Linked DNA regions of Homo sapiens: region 2 is linked to region 1. The links are contacts of gene promoters, found by promoter capture Hi-C in blood cells and fetal thymus (Javierre and others, 2016). All regions are on one chromosome and are shown on one strand. Each heading gives the region's core, a stretch centred on a gene start or on the middle of the fragment in contact. The rest is flanking DNA. Distances are from core to core; before and after follow the strand shown. Region 1 holds the start of TMEFF2 (transmembrane protein with EGF like and two follistatin like domains 2). Region 2 has its middle 760 kb from the start of LINC01821.

Region 1 (6,972 bases), core at 2,757-5,256:
TCACATACAGTTTTGTTTATGTGCATATTTCCTGGTTGAGTCATATTGTCAGATTTTAAAAGTATTTTTAAAAGTAACTTAAAATACTCAAGGGCAAATATAGGCTATTAGTACAACATCCATGCTACTTGAAGTTCTGCATGATTATATGAACACTTTGAGAGGAAAAGTTTTATAACTTACATGGTGGAAAGCATTTGTTAGCTAATGACTATACTAATGACACTAAAAGTTCTATCTTTAATAGATACTAATAACCCAGTTTTGATCATGCCAGTAGTGCAACTTCTTTCTCTCTTTGTTAGTTAAAAGAAATTAACACAAGAAAAAGTACATTTCCTGATGTTCATAAAATGACTTGTGGATCTAAATGCTCTTCTGGATTCCTAGGGGATTCAGTTCTAATTGAGTGTGGTATCTATGAAAAAGCTGATATACACTAATTAATAAGTTCCATGATTTCCAAATTAGAACAAAGTGTTGAGGTTACACTAATAAGGAGTTACCTTAAAAACCTAGTCAGGTTGCAAGGATAATAAAGGCCAAGACCATTAAAACAGATAGCAATAAGATAAAAAGATGATAGCCCCAATCAAAAAGAACAAAAGAATAAGTCCACACTTCTTACCCCCTATTTTGACTATTATCCCCAGTCAATTCACTTTTAAAGTGATGCTAGAAGGGTCAGAGAAACATAATTTTCCTTTGACATCCCAAAAGCACAACCTGAAGCTTTCTACCTCCAGCAGCATTTATAACTTTGGCATATACATTTCTCCAAAAAGCGTATGTCTTCTTGACATCAGTTGGCTCTCTTGCTAGTACTTTTGCTTGGTGCCAGCTTCCCTCTTAGCTTGCATAGCTATAAATTTCCAAGTGATAGGCTGTAAAGGAAGATTCCTGCTTTGCAGTCTCATTAATGAATTAGAAGATGCAAATATAAGACTTCTTACCTTGAACTGACAGACGCAAGTCACAGTGTCTCCAATTCTTAAACATTCCCCATCAAATTTACAGGTGTTGGTGTCACAGAGGAAGAGATCATTTTCTCTGTCATCATAACCTCAAATTCAAAGAGAACACTCCAGTCATTAAAACATCTTACAGATTTTTAACAAAAAAAAGCACTACTTTGAAGCTTTAAAATACTTGTCCTAAATTTTAAATCCAACAACTATAGCTGTACTGCAAGGTCACTGTCTACTGATAACCTCAAAATCTAGTTAAGTGATCAATATTCGTTTCCATTTTCCACAATTCTTTTCTAGTCAATTCTCCTTTAGTATCCTTTTCTGATAGTGCTATTTTTTAAAGCTTGCGTTAATACTGACAGTGGTGAATGAAAGCTTAACATTTGCTTCCTGTTTTTTTTTTATTTTTATTTTTTGCTCATTAGGTGGACAATATTTATGACCACAAAACTCCACATTTTGGAAAAGAGCTAGTGATGATCTCTGAATACCCTTTTACCATTTCCCCATCTTTAATTGTTCTTTTGCTTCAACGACTGAAACAACCCCTTATTTGAAATGTATCCAGACAAAGAGGAAACAAAGCCTCAATAATAAAGATAAACAGGCACAGTGTTTTCTGTGATGGTCTGTTTGGCTCAAATGAAGATTGATCACCTCTAAGTTAACAGGGGTGGAAGCGGGGTGCCAAGTTCTTGACAACCTATCTGCAAAACCAGTTTATTCTCTTTAGTTTATGCAGTCCCCTTTAAAATATCTGGTAAATATGTAATTTCTTGATTGCAAATGTCAACTTCACATTTAAGTTAGTTATTTCCTAAAACAATGCAAGGGCTAGGAATGAAGCAAACCAGTCTGTGTTGGACTACAAAGCCATCAACATTTCCAAAAATTGTTTTTGCAGGCTCATAATTATTACCATAATAAAGCATCTAAAAAGTGATTAGGCAATAGCAAAGTGAAACTTATTCTTTCAAAAACAACACACATGTACGCATGAATCAAGAAGTTATAGAAACATGTTGAGTTTTATTAAAATGCCAAATTTAGAAACTGCCAAAAAAGAGAACAATCTATTGACCCAAATCTAATAGGGTTGCATATCTCAACTTGTCTTTGTAAAGGATAAATTAGAATGATGCATAATAATTTTCCTTTTGGCATTTACATCAGTAATAACTAGGAACTATACAGGCTTTCACCCTGAGTTACAGTTGGTCATTCCCTCCTCTCTAAAGTTACATACACTTCAGCTTATATACATCTTTGAAAGACACTTTATTCAGAGCCAGATTTAACTACAGCAAAATTATATTCACAGAAGATGAAAAATTACATACACACTTGCTAAAACTAGAACAGACCACACCTAGGGGACAATACCCAGGCATGTTAACGGAGTTTAAAATGCCAAGGAAATTACACCACAATTCTGCCCAGTATACTACAGGCTGTCAAACCGAAATGCTATGCCAGCTAGGAGTGCAGCAACTCCCATCCTCTGGCCCTATTTAATTAGGAAGCTTCAGCAGAGCGAAGCCTGCCAAGCGTTCGCCGTCAGAATCTGAAGGAACCCGAGCGAGCAAGAAGAGTGCCTGACCCACTCCACAGAAGCCTGTCCAGAAATGGAGGAGTCAGCGCCCACTGAAGTCGGTTCCGCCCTCGGCTCGCCTACATGGAGCCTGACCAGCCTCAGTCATGCCCACTCCGGCCTGGGAGACCCGCAAAGTGTTCTTTTTCTCAACTCCCCTGTACTACCTTGAAGCTTAGGGAAGCAAAGAGAGGGGCATATCTGGACTGCAAAACCAATGTCTTTTGCCGCCTAGGAGAGAAGGGAATGAGAGAGAGAGAGAGATAGATAGATAGAGAGAGAGAGAGAGAGAGAGAGAGAGAGAGAGAGAGAGAGAGAGAAATTCTATTGAAACCCAGCTCCTCTAGAATCTGTGTGACCTGGTCTTCAACGGGAGACCAGTGCGACCTCATGGCACCTTTGCCAGGAATCAGCGATTCCCCTGCAGTCACCATTTGATTTATTGCTTTCTCGCTCATTCTTTCTCATAAAGTTATTTCTTCCTCATCCTAGTAAGACTTTTTTCTTTAATGATGACAAAGCTTCTGTTTCAGTGTTTCCCCTAGGATTGGTGCTCTTTCAAAACAGTGAACCCAGAAAACCATCCCGTTTAATATTTCTCAAAATCCTCGCAGCTCCAATGTAAGCGCAAGCATGCAAAGGTTTCCTGCTACACCTGCACTTTCTGCCCATCCCAGAACCACCCCTCACCCCCGGGCCTGCAACAGTTCCCCTTGTTTCTCTGGATAGAGGTGGGTGGTATTAGGGGTCTAGGGCAGTAGGAGGTGAGGGGCTGAGGAGGCGCGCTAGGGTAGGCTGGTCTGTGCTGGATACGCGTGTTCTTCTGCGGAGTTAAAGGGTCGGGGACGGGGGTTCTGGACTTACCAGAGCAATTCCAGCCGGTGGGCGTTTGGCAGTCACTTAAGGAGGTAGGGAAAGCAGCGAGCTTCACCGGGCGGGCTACGATGAGTAGCATGACGGGCAGCAGCAGCAGCCAGCAAAAGCCCTCGCAAAGTGTCCAGCTGCTGCACTGCCGCGGGGACTCCCACAGCACCATGACTAGTTCGTGCAACTCTGCAGCAGCAAACGGCTTCCGAGGAACACAGGATCGCGGGGGCCGGGCAGCGGGCTACTGAGCATCCCGCGGACGGCGGCAGCAGAGGCGGCGGCGGTGGCAGTGGCACCCGGCGGGGAAGCAGCAGCCAAACCCGCGCATGATCTCGAGAGTTTCAGCAACATCCAGGGACTGGGCTCAGCCCCGGAGCGAGAGGGTCGTCCGCTGAGAAGCTGCGCCGGAGACGCGGGAAGCTGCTGCCATAAGGAGGGAGCTCTGGGAAGCCGGAGGACAGGAGGAGACGGGAGTCCAGGGGCAGACGAGTGGAGCCCGAGGAGGCAGGGTGGAGGGAGAGTCAAGGCGCCCCGCAGCCCGGCAGCCGCCTCTCGAGCTCTGCCGCCCGCATCCCTCTGGCGTTTGGGAAGCAGCAGGTCCTCAGCCCGCCCGGGGTCACGTGGGAAGAGGCAGTCGGGCTCTGATTGGTGGAGCAGGATGCAGGTCCCGGGAGGGAGGGGTCGACGAGGAGGTGCAAGGATGCAAGGAGGAGGCGGCCGCGGAAGCCACAGATGGGCTCGCTCGCCAGGCGCTGGCCCGAGTGGGGCTAGGCGGGGATGGCTCAAATGAGAAGCTCGGGCTTCAGGGTGGGCTACCCGCACACTCATATACCATTCGCCTCACTCTCCGCTCCAGGACGCCCCCTACCGAAGGCGGGGTCCGGACTAGCGCCCCTCTTCCGCGCGTGACCCCGGGCCGCGAGTGCGGGCCGCGGCTGGGTGGCGTCTCTCCGAGCTGGAGATGGTGGGGGCGGAGGTGTCAGAGGAGCAGCAGCAGCAGGGCAGAGAGGGGCGAGTCGGCGCGGGAGAGGGCGTCCTGCTGGCGACCGGCGCTCCAGCGTGCGGGAGCGCGCCGCCTAGGCTGTAGGGGGATGCAGGCTGGGAATGTCGCGGCGGAGAGGCCAGGGACGTTTCTCTAGGGATTTACAGGAAAGAGGGTGAGAGGCGATGGTGTTAGAACCGCTCTTGCCGACCTGGAAGCAACAGCAGCATCTCCCACAAGAGCGTGCAACCCCAAGGCTGCTCGCCGAGGCAGCTCAGCCATCCCGGCAGGCGCTCTCCTTCCTTCTCTCTTCTCCCCTCTCTCCTCCCAGGCCCCCCGCAGCTCCGACCCAGCCCAAGCGTTCGCAGGTTTGAATCCCTCTCCTCATCACCCGCTCCTCTCCAGCCCGTAGCCTATTAGTGTGTCCACCTGGGAGGTGCGGTCAGATGTGTTTGGAAGGTCAGATTGGTCGGGACAAGTGGTCTGAGAGAAAGAGAAAGGCTCCTCTGCATACGCCGCGGGTGGGTTGCCGGGAGCATCGGCCGGGCAGCGGCGTCCGGGAAGGGGAGAGCGGGCTCCATTTGTTGGCCCAGGCAGTGACCCTGCGTTCCTTACTCGGGTCTTTGCCGGATGGCCGGTGACCTGGGGCGACGAGAGAAGGTCTAACTCGGCAGGAGTCTCTGGCTCTGCGCGTTTCTTTCATTCTCTCCAGCGGGAAGGGCAAACGGCATAGCGGGACCCGCCTTCCGTCTGCTGCATTCTTCAGGCAGTTAGACACACTCTTTAGCCTAATGGAATTTTAGTCGCCAGTAACGGGACCAAGAGCTTTCGGGGACAAGGGTGGAGAGGAACATCTTTCTTCCATGACCGGGGTCACTATTGCAGTCTCAGTGTTTTGGATGCCCCATAGGGAAGAGCTTTCTTTTTGGTGTGTGATTATTCAGTGATTCCTGTTTTTGTTTTTGTTTATCTTCTCTCCGCTCTCCTTCTCTATTCCTCTCTGTTATCCCTCCTCCTTCTTCTCCCCCCGCTTTCAAAAGCCTCCGGATCCTCCCTTTTTCTATTTAAATTCTCCTTTTGTGCCCCTCTTTCTGTGTCCCCTGAATTTAGGAGAGCATTTGATAACATTTAACAGGCAATTAGTGTCCATTCCCAATCACTTAAAAGAGGCATTCATATACTTTGAAAACGGGACTATCTATCCTTTGCAGACACCAGCAGAAAAACAAATTGTACCCGAGTAATCCTTTTAAGTACTTTAACCTCCAACCTCCTCCCACTTCCTTGCTTTTTAACTTCTCCTTTGAGAGATGTGATCGTGCAGCACCTCAGTGCCTCAACGAAATCTTTTTTTTTTTCCTGTGTGAAATCCATCCCTTTATCTTACATCTCCGCCTCCGTCCGAGACTGTCCCTCTCCCCTCCCACCTCCAAAGATTTCTGAATCTCAGTGTCTCTCACTCCTGGCAATTAAGCAGCAGATCCCAGCATTCTAGTCGGTGGCATCTCGCTCCTCACCGACGAAGACTCCATTAAAACAGATCAATTAGACCAGACGTTGGAGGCATCAGAAAATCGGCTTCTAGACAGAGCAGCTAAATTCTTTAAGGAAACAGAATACCCATTAGATAGAGCTGCCAACTAATATTGCAAAACAAGGAATTAGAAATTTCTTTCGCTACAGGCTTTCAGCAGAGAAGGCAACATAAATATAGATCAAGATTTAACAACTCTACAGCAGAGAATGAGAACATGTCATTTTCCATAGCAAGGCTGGTGTGGTAACTAATCAGGCTTATGAAAATAAGTCATGCTTGAAACTAAAGGCAAAGTCCTTAAAAGTGTTTATGCAGTAATTATGATAATGAAACAGGACCTGCTAGGATTTCAGAGTTTGGCTATGTAAGTAGAATTTTAGAGAACCTCTTAGCAGAGGAAAACTGTTTTTGAATTTTCTGCTAAGTAAATTTTTGGCATACTTTCTAATAATATATGCTCTTCCTAAGACGTTTTGCCAAAAGTAAGTTAAAACTCCAAAGGAGTTAATTACTGGTTGTAACTGGTTAACAAATGCGGTTGCTTCCACAGAGGTCCTTTAAATTATTAAACAGTTTGAAGCAAAGCCTTTTCAATGGGAATGCTGCAATTTTGTTGCACTTACTCTGTACTTAGTGTTATAGTGCCACCAAGAAACAAATTCTGAAACTGGCAAGCACCACCAAGTGGCAGAAGAACATCACTCATTGAGCAGAGAATTGTATTACTGAATATGTAAATAAAAATATATACATTATTTAGACTTGTCACTAGGTACCAAAGAAGTAGACAAGACTGCATTAGCAATTGGATTAGTGCTTTAACTTTTCCCCAGCAAGGCAAAATCAGTTTACTTATTAGAATTAAATTTAAGTCTATGAACTGTACTTTGCATTGCGTATCATATGATTGCTAGTAATATGACACAATCATACCATGTATTTGCAAAATTCTTATTTTAAAATACTATACCATATTTACTTTCAATCTTCTTGAGCTAGAACACTTTATTTGTGGCATATACAC
Region 2 (7,270 bases), core at 4,716-7,215, 1.4 Mb after region 1:
GCTCCACACCCAGGCGTACTTCCAAGCATTTAATGTACTCACTTGCCTGGAGGAAAAGCCTGGGCTGACTCTCCCTTTTCATGTGGAGATCTGGATACATTGGAACCCCCTCTGCTCCATGCCCAGACATATATCCGGGCATTTGGAACACTCACTCTTCTAGATTATGAATTCAGGCTGCCCCTCCCTTCCTGGAGAGCCAACTTGGGACAGTGGAGTTATCTCCACTCTACACCTTGGCACTTGTCTGGGCACTTGGCAGCTGCCCATCAGATACCCACCCCTTGGAGCTGGTGTTTGCACCTGCCATTGGGTGACATGTAGGCGAGCCTGCTTGGCATAGCCCCATTCAGCTTGGTTCCCCACTCCAGGGCTAAGCTGGGAACTGAGACTACTATCCATTTCACAGGACACACCATTGGCTGAGGCAACAGTGAGCTTCTCAAGGTTAACAAAGATCATGCATAGGGAGATGTGTGTTGACTGCAGCCAGATCCAACCCATATTGCCACCTACTGGTGTAGACATCAAGCTGCACAACCAAACAAAAAATCTGACACCAGTGCACAGCACTAGGGAATGAGATAAGCTTCCTGAGACCTCCCCATTCTGACTCCACAGGAGGCAGTGAGCACACTCACATGTCCAGCAAATTGCTACTACAACTAGCATTTAAGAAAGTCACCATACAAAAGATATCTATAACCAAGAAACTTACATAGTCTTTGCCACTAAAGCACCTGGAACCAAAGCCAAAGAACTCTACACAATGCATATTATAGCCACACCCTCAAGGGGGAAAATCTTACTCAAATGAAAGCAAATCCAAAAATGAGAAGAGGAGATAGCTAATCAGATAAGAAGGAACCAGAGAGATAATCCTGGAAGAATGAAAACACAGAGTGTTAAAACACTAACTGCCCAGCAATGGATCCTAATTAAAATGAAATCTTTGAAATACCAAATAAAGAATTCAAAATGTTTATTTTAAAGAAATTTAATGAGACCCAAAAGAAAATTGAAAGCCAATACAAATAAATCATAAAACAATTCAGAATATGAAAGAAGAGACATATATGGTTTTATAAAACTTCTGAAAAAAAGATGTGTTGACAGAATTACAAAATATAGCTGTAAGCTTTAACAATAGGCTAGTATAAGCAAAATAAAAGATTTTAGAACTAGATGGCAGGTCTTTCAAATTAACCTATTTGAACAAAAATTCAAAAGAGATTTTAAAAAAAGCTTTTGATAAATATTGGATTATGTAAAGCCTTCAAAACTATAAGTAGTAACTATTCCAGAGATAACAGAAAAATTGTAAAATAAAACATATGGAAAATATATTCTAGGGAATAATTGAGAAAAACTTTTCTGGTCTTGTTAAAGTTCTAGACATCCAGATACAATATATTTAAAGAATTCTTGGGAGATACATTGCAAGAAGGAACTCATCAAGGAATATAGTCGTCAGACTATACAAAGTCAACAAGATAGAAAAAAATTCTAAAATGGGCAAGAGAGAAACATCTAATCACCTATGAAGGAAATACCATCAGACTAACAGCAGACATATCAGCAGAAACATTACAAATGAGAAGACATTAGGGTCCCATTTACAGTCTTTTTAAAGAAGAAAAAGTGCAAGCCAAGAATTTTGTATCTTGCTAAACTAAGTTTCCTAAATGAAGGAAAAATAAAGTTGCTCCGAGTCAAGAAAACACCAAGGGAATTTGTCACCACTAGATCAGTCCTAAAAGAAATGCTCAAACGAGTTAAAAATGGAAATGGAAGGGGTATACTTGTCATCATAAAAACGTGCAGGTCACATAAAGTAATTACACAATTGAGACTGCAAAGCAAATATGTAATAACATTATGGCAAGAAGAAAACCTCTCATATCAATATTAACTTTAAAGGTAAAGGGCTATATGCTCCACTTAAAATATGTCAGTTGGCAGAATGGATAAAAATATAAAAACTTTTTAAACATAAGCTGCATACAAAAAAACCCGCCTGATATGGTTTGGATCAGTGCCCCCACCAAATCTCATGTAGAATTGTAATCCTCAGTGTCAGAGCAGGGGCCTGGTGGGAGGTGATTTGATCATAGGGGTGGGTTCTCATAAATGGTTTAGCACCACCCACTTGGTACTGTTCTCATGATAGTGCGTTCTTGTGAGATTTAGTTGTTTAAGAGTGTGGCGGCCAGGTGTGGTGGCTATGCCAGTAATACCAGCACTTTGGGAGGCCAAGGTGGGCGGATCATGAGGTCAGGAGATTGAGACCATCCTGGCTAACATGGTGAAACCCCATTTAGGATTGTTTTACATAATTCTCTGAAGAATCACCTTGGTAGTTTGATAGGAATTGCATCGAACCTGTGGATCGCTTTGGGCAGTACAATTTAAAGATACTGATTCTTCTGATCCATGATCATGAGATACTTTTTCCACTAGTTTGTGTCATATATGATTTATTTAATCAATGTTTTGTAGTTCTCTTTGTAGAGATCTGTCATTTTCTTGGTTAAATATATTCCTAGGTATAATTTTTAGCAAATTTTAAATAGAGAGAGAAGGTGCTACACACTTTTAAATGACCAGATCTCATGATAACTCACTTACTATGGTGACCAAAGAAGATGGTGCTAAATGATTTATGAGAAACTACCCTCGTGATCCAATCACCTCCCAACCTCCTGTTGGGGATTGGGGATTACATTTCAACATGAGATTTGGGTGGGGACACAGGATTCAAACCATATCAGTGATTTACCATATAAAAGAATTAAAAACAAAAACCACAGAATCATCTCAAAAGATTGAGAAAAAAACATTTAATAAAATTTGTCATTTTTTTCATGACAAAAACCCTTGCCAAACTAGGAATAGAAAGAACATACTTAAAATAATAAAAGCCATGTATAACAAACCCACAGGCAACATTAAACAGAATGGGGAAAAGCACTTCCCCTAAGAAATGGAACAAGACAAGGATACCTACTTTCACCACTGCTATTCAACATAGTACTGGAAGTTCTAGCTATGGCAATCAAGCAAAAGGAAAAGATGAAAAACATTTAAATTGGAAAAGAGAAAGTCAAATTATCTCTGTCCGCTGTTGATATACTCTTATACCTAGTAAACTCTAAAGACTTCTGCAAAAGACTTTTAGATTTGATAAATTACTTCAGTAAATTTTCAGGATATAAAATCAACATACAAAAATCAGTAGCATTTCTATACACCAATACCAGTCAAGCTGAGAACCAAAACAAGAACTCAATCCCATTTAAAATTTGCTAAAAATTATACCTAGGAATATATTTAACCAAGAAAATGACAGATCTCTACAAGGAGAACTACAAAACATTGATTAAATAAATCATATATGACACAAATTAATGGAAAAAGTATGTAATGCTCATGGATCAGAAGAATCAGTATCATTAAATTGTACTGCCAAAGCAACCTACAGGTTCAATGCAATTCCTGTCAAAGTACCAAGGTCATTCTCCAGAGAATTATGTAAAACAATCCAAAAAATTCATCTGCAAAGAAAAAAAGCCCAAATAGTCAAAGTAATCTCAAGCAAAATGAAAAAAGCTCTAGGCATCACATTACCTGACTTCAAATAATATTATAAGGTTATAGTAACCAAAACAGCACAGTACTGGTATAAAAATAGACACATCAATTAATGGAACAGAATAGAGAACTAGAAATAAAGACATATCTACAACCATATGATTTTTGACAAAGTCCATGAAAATACGCACTAGTAAAAGAACATGCTATAAAATAAATGGTGGTGGAAAAAACGGATACTCACATGCTGAGGAATGAAGCTGGACTCCTATCTTACACCATATACAAACTAACTCAAGATGAATTAAAGTTTAAAGATAAAATTTCTAGTAGAAAACCTAGGAAAAACTATGGCCATTTCTCTAGGCAAACAATTTATGAATAAGTTCTCAGAAGGACACACAACGAAAACAAAAATAAACAATTGGGATTTAAATAAACTAAGCATGCAAAAGAAATAGTCAACAAAGTAAACAGACAGCCTACACATGTGAGAACATATTTGCAAACGGTACCTCCAACAGAGTGTTAATATCCAGAATTTACTGGGAACTCAAACTACTCAACAACAAAAAAAACAAAAACTTCATTAAAAAGTGGGCAAAGGACATGAACAGACATTTTACAAAGGAAGACATACAAGTGGCCAGCAAACATATTAAAAGATGCTTAACATCACTTATCATCTGAGAAATGCACTTTTTTTTTTTTTTTTGAGATGGAGTCTCGCTCTGTCACCCAGGATGGAGTGCAGTGGCGTGATCTCGGCTCACTGCAAGCTCTGCCTCCTGGGTTCACACCATTCTCTTGCCTCAGCCTCCCGAGTAGCTGGGACTGCAGGTGCCCGCCACCACACCCGGCTACTTTTTGTATTTTTAGTAGAGACGGGGTTTCACCGTGTTAGCCAGGATGGTCTTGATCTCCTGACTTCGTGATCCGCCTGCCTTGGCCTCCTAAAGTGCTGGGATTACAGGCCTGAGCCACCGCGCCCAGCCTAGTAATTCTTAAATGTGTTCCTGTGGACAGGTGCTACCTTCTGAGTGGAGACTGATCAAGCTAATACCTCTCTTGAAATTATCAATAGAGTGGCTCCTGTATTATTGCCCATGCCGGAAGACATTATTTTTCTTGTTTTTCCTACATGACCTTTGTATCCGTTCTTTATTCTTAAAGTTTAGTGAATTTTTAAAATGTACCTTGGTTTTGTTATATATGTTACTTTTATTTCTTCTTTTTTCTTTTTTTCTCTTTTTGACATTAAGCAAGCTATACCTTCCTTTGGTTCACATGTTCTGCCATTAAGTCAGTCATTACAGATAAGCTTCCTTCAATTATTAAGTGATTGGCTTTCAATCTACATATAAAATCGTATCGCTTTACTCAGAGGTGCTTAAATAACACATGTATGGTTAATTGCTTGGCAGCAAAACCCCAAATCATTTGCTCTGATGGTTTCACGGCAGGGATTTATGCCCATTTTCAAAAAGTACATGGGCTATTGTGGTAGAACTATTGGAACATTCTAATACATGGTTTTGTAATGTTGGAAACTGTGAGAATACCTTCAAAATGATTATTGCCTTTTAAAAGTACGGTGTTATATATGAAGGGAATAACATTAGAAATCAGTGCTGGAATATTAAAAAATAGTATTCTAGTCATTTTAAAGCTGAGTACCTTGCTAAGTTTAAAATTTCAGTCAAATTTGTGCAACATAATCACAGACCTTTTACAAGAGTGTCATTTGAACTAATCTGTTAGCCTTGTCCAAATTAGTCCAATTGTTTATAAGGTATTAAATGCACTACAAAGCCTAACATGTTTGCTATGCTCCATAATCATAGCACCTGTTAAACAGCCTACTGCAGCTGTACTTTTAGCAGATTACAGGCCATTAGGCAAGTTATACAGTATCTTCTTTTTATAACTTAATTTCTCTTCTTTTGCATAGTGACTTTCTGGATCATAAAATGAGAACTTTTTCCCAGCCTTTCACGATTGAGATGAGGATAGTGGTTTTAAAATTATTAGGATGCTCAGATACAACTTGCAAATGCTGTGGTAAAATGCAGTAGTAAAATATTTCATTAACTTTTAATTCAATTTAATATTGTTTTCTTCCCCCATGGGACTGGATGTCTTTAGATTTATCATGCTCTTTTTGGAATAGTTTCTTGAAGAAAAGTTAAAAGTAAAACTATAGAGTAAGAAAACACAAAAGCTTATACTAATTTTTTTTTCAGGATCCAAACAGTGGCCAAATGGAAGAAACATCTGGCATCTATTTTATTCCCTCATTAATTTTTTAAGCATTTGCAGGTTGTCTAAATCATCAAAACTCTTCCGTGTATGCAGACACATACACACAAAATTATCTTTAGAGTAATAAAGAATGTAAAATAGGTAAGGCAATTTATTCTCTTATTCCAGATGCAACAGGAACTCATAGCTTTAGACATTCTGTTTGGTACTTGCAATAAAATGCTGAGAAAATCTAACTTAACTAATGTATGTTCCCTGTTCTCATGAAGCTTACAGTTTCCTGGGGATGACAAAATAAATAAATGAATAAGAAAAACAAATAGCAATGATGTTATATATATGCCCACTCTATAAATGCATATATATATATATAATATATCAATATCATAGCATATCTACACATTATTTAACTGCGAAGCAGAAATGTTTGAATATGTACAAACACACCACAAAAAAAAAAAAACAAAACAAAACAGGAAGGCCACAGTGTGCCATGGCTCATCATAAACCTAGAGAAGTAATATATTTATTGAAATTTATTGTTAAAGAGGTGACATAGGAGTAGGGTATATGGGGTAGGAAATACAGAATTTTTCTTGGGAGAAGAACCACAGAAGCAGAATTTCTGTGGTAAAAGTTGCACAGGGAAGTTGGAAAATTGAGAGAAGATGAGTATAAATGGACCACAGAAACAAGTGGGTAGATTGCACTGGGTGATCCTACAGAGATTCTCTGTGACCAGTTCATTTAGCATTTTGTAATCAGAGTTGTTTTCAGTCTTTATCTCAGGCGCAACGGAAAACTGGAAGTGCCTTTCAGCCAGGGTGTCAGATGATCAAATTTGCATTAAACATTCATTTGGCTGCTGATACGGTTTGGCTGCTGATATGCTTTGGCTGTGTTCCCACCCAAATCTCATCTCATCTTGAATTGTAGCTCCCATAATTCCTACATGTTGTGGGAGGGATCCAGTGGGAGACAATTGAATCATCGAGGCAGTTCACCCCATACTGTTCTCGTAGTAGTGAATAAGTCTCACGAGATCTGATGGTTTTTTAAGAAGTGTCCCTTTTCACTTGATTCTCATTCTCTCTTGTCTGCTGCTAAGACCTCCCTTTCGCCTTTTGCCATGATTGTGAGGCCTCCTCAGCTACATGGAACTGTGAGTCCATTAAACCTTTTTTGGTTTCTAAATTGCCCAGTCTCAGGTACGTTTTTATCAGCAGCATGAAAACAGAGTAATACAGCTGCTGTACGGAGAATGAAAATGGAGAAGGGAAAATGGTGTGTAATAAATACATATATAGTCATGGAACCAGGCCATGGAAGATCTCATTCAGCTACAAATTTTAATTAGGAAATTGATTTCTACATCATCCTTTCTGGAGTTTTCATATGATTTTAAAGGTAGATTTAT

The links. Contacts are between HindIII fragments. The CHiCAGO score rates a contact against its expected background, and 5 or more counts as called.
Region 2: a contact is called between a fragment that was not itself captured here and the fragment with the promoter of TMEFF2 in region 1, in 1 of 17 cell types (M1 macrophages). The highest score is 7.2, in M1 macrophages.

What each region holds. Positions count from the first base shown.
Region 1 is chr2:192,190,927-192,197,898 of GRCh38, forward strand. It overlaps TMEFF2 (transmembrane protein with EGF like and two follistatin like domains 2), which reads right to left and starts at 4,007. Exons shown (of 10, transcript NM_016192.4): 1 at 3,427-4,007; 2 at 954-1,063. The coding sequence starts at 3,598. RefSeq lists an enhancer at 3,953-4,528. The HindIII fragment of the contact is 4,792 bases long and covers 3,082-6,972 here.
Region 2 is chr2:193,584,303-193,591,572 of GRCh38, forward strand. No RefSeq gene overlaps it. Among named protein-coding and RNA genes, the nearest start is that of LINC01821, 760 kb to the right of the region's middle. RefSeq lists a silencer at 438-567. The HindIII fragment of the contact is 310 bases long and covers 5,811-6,120 here.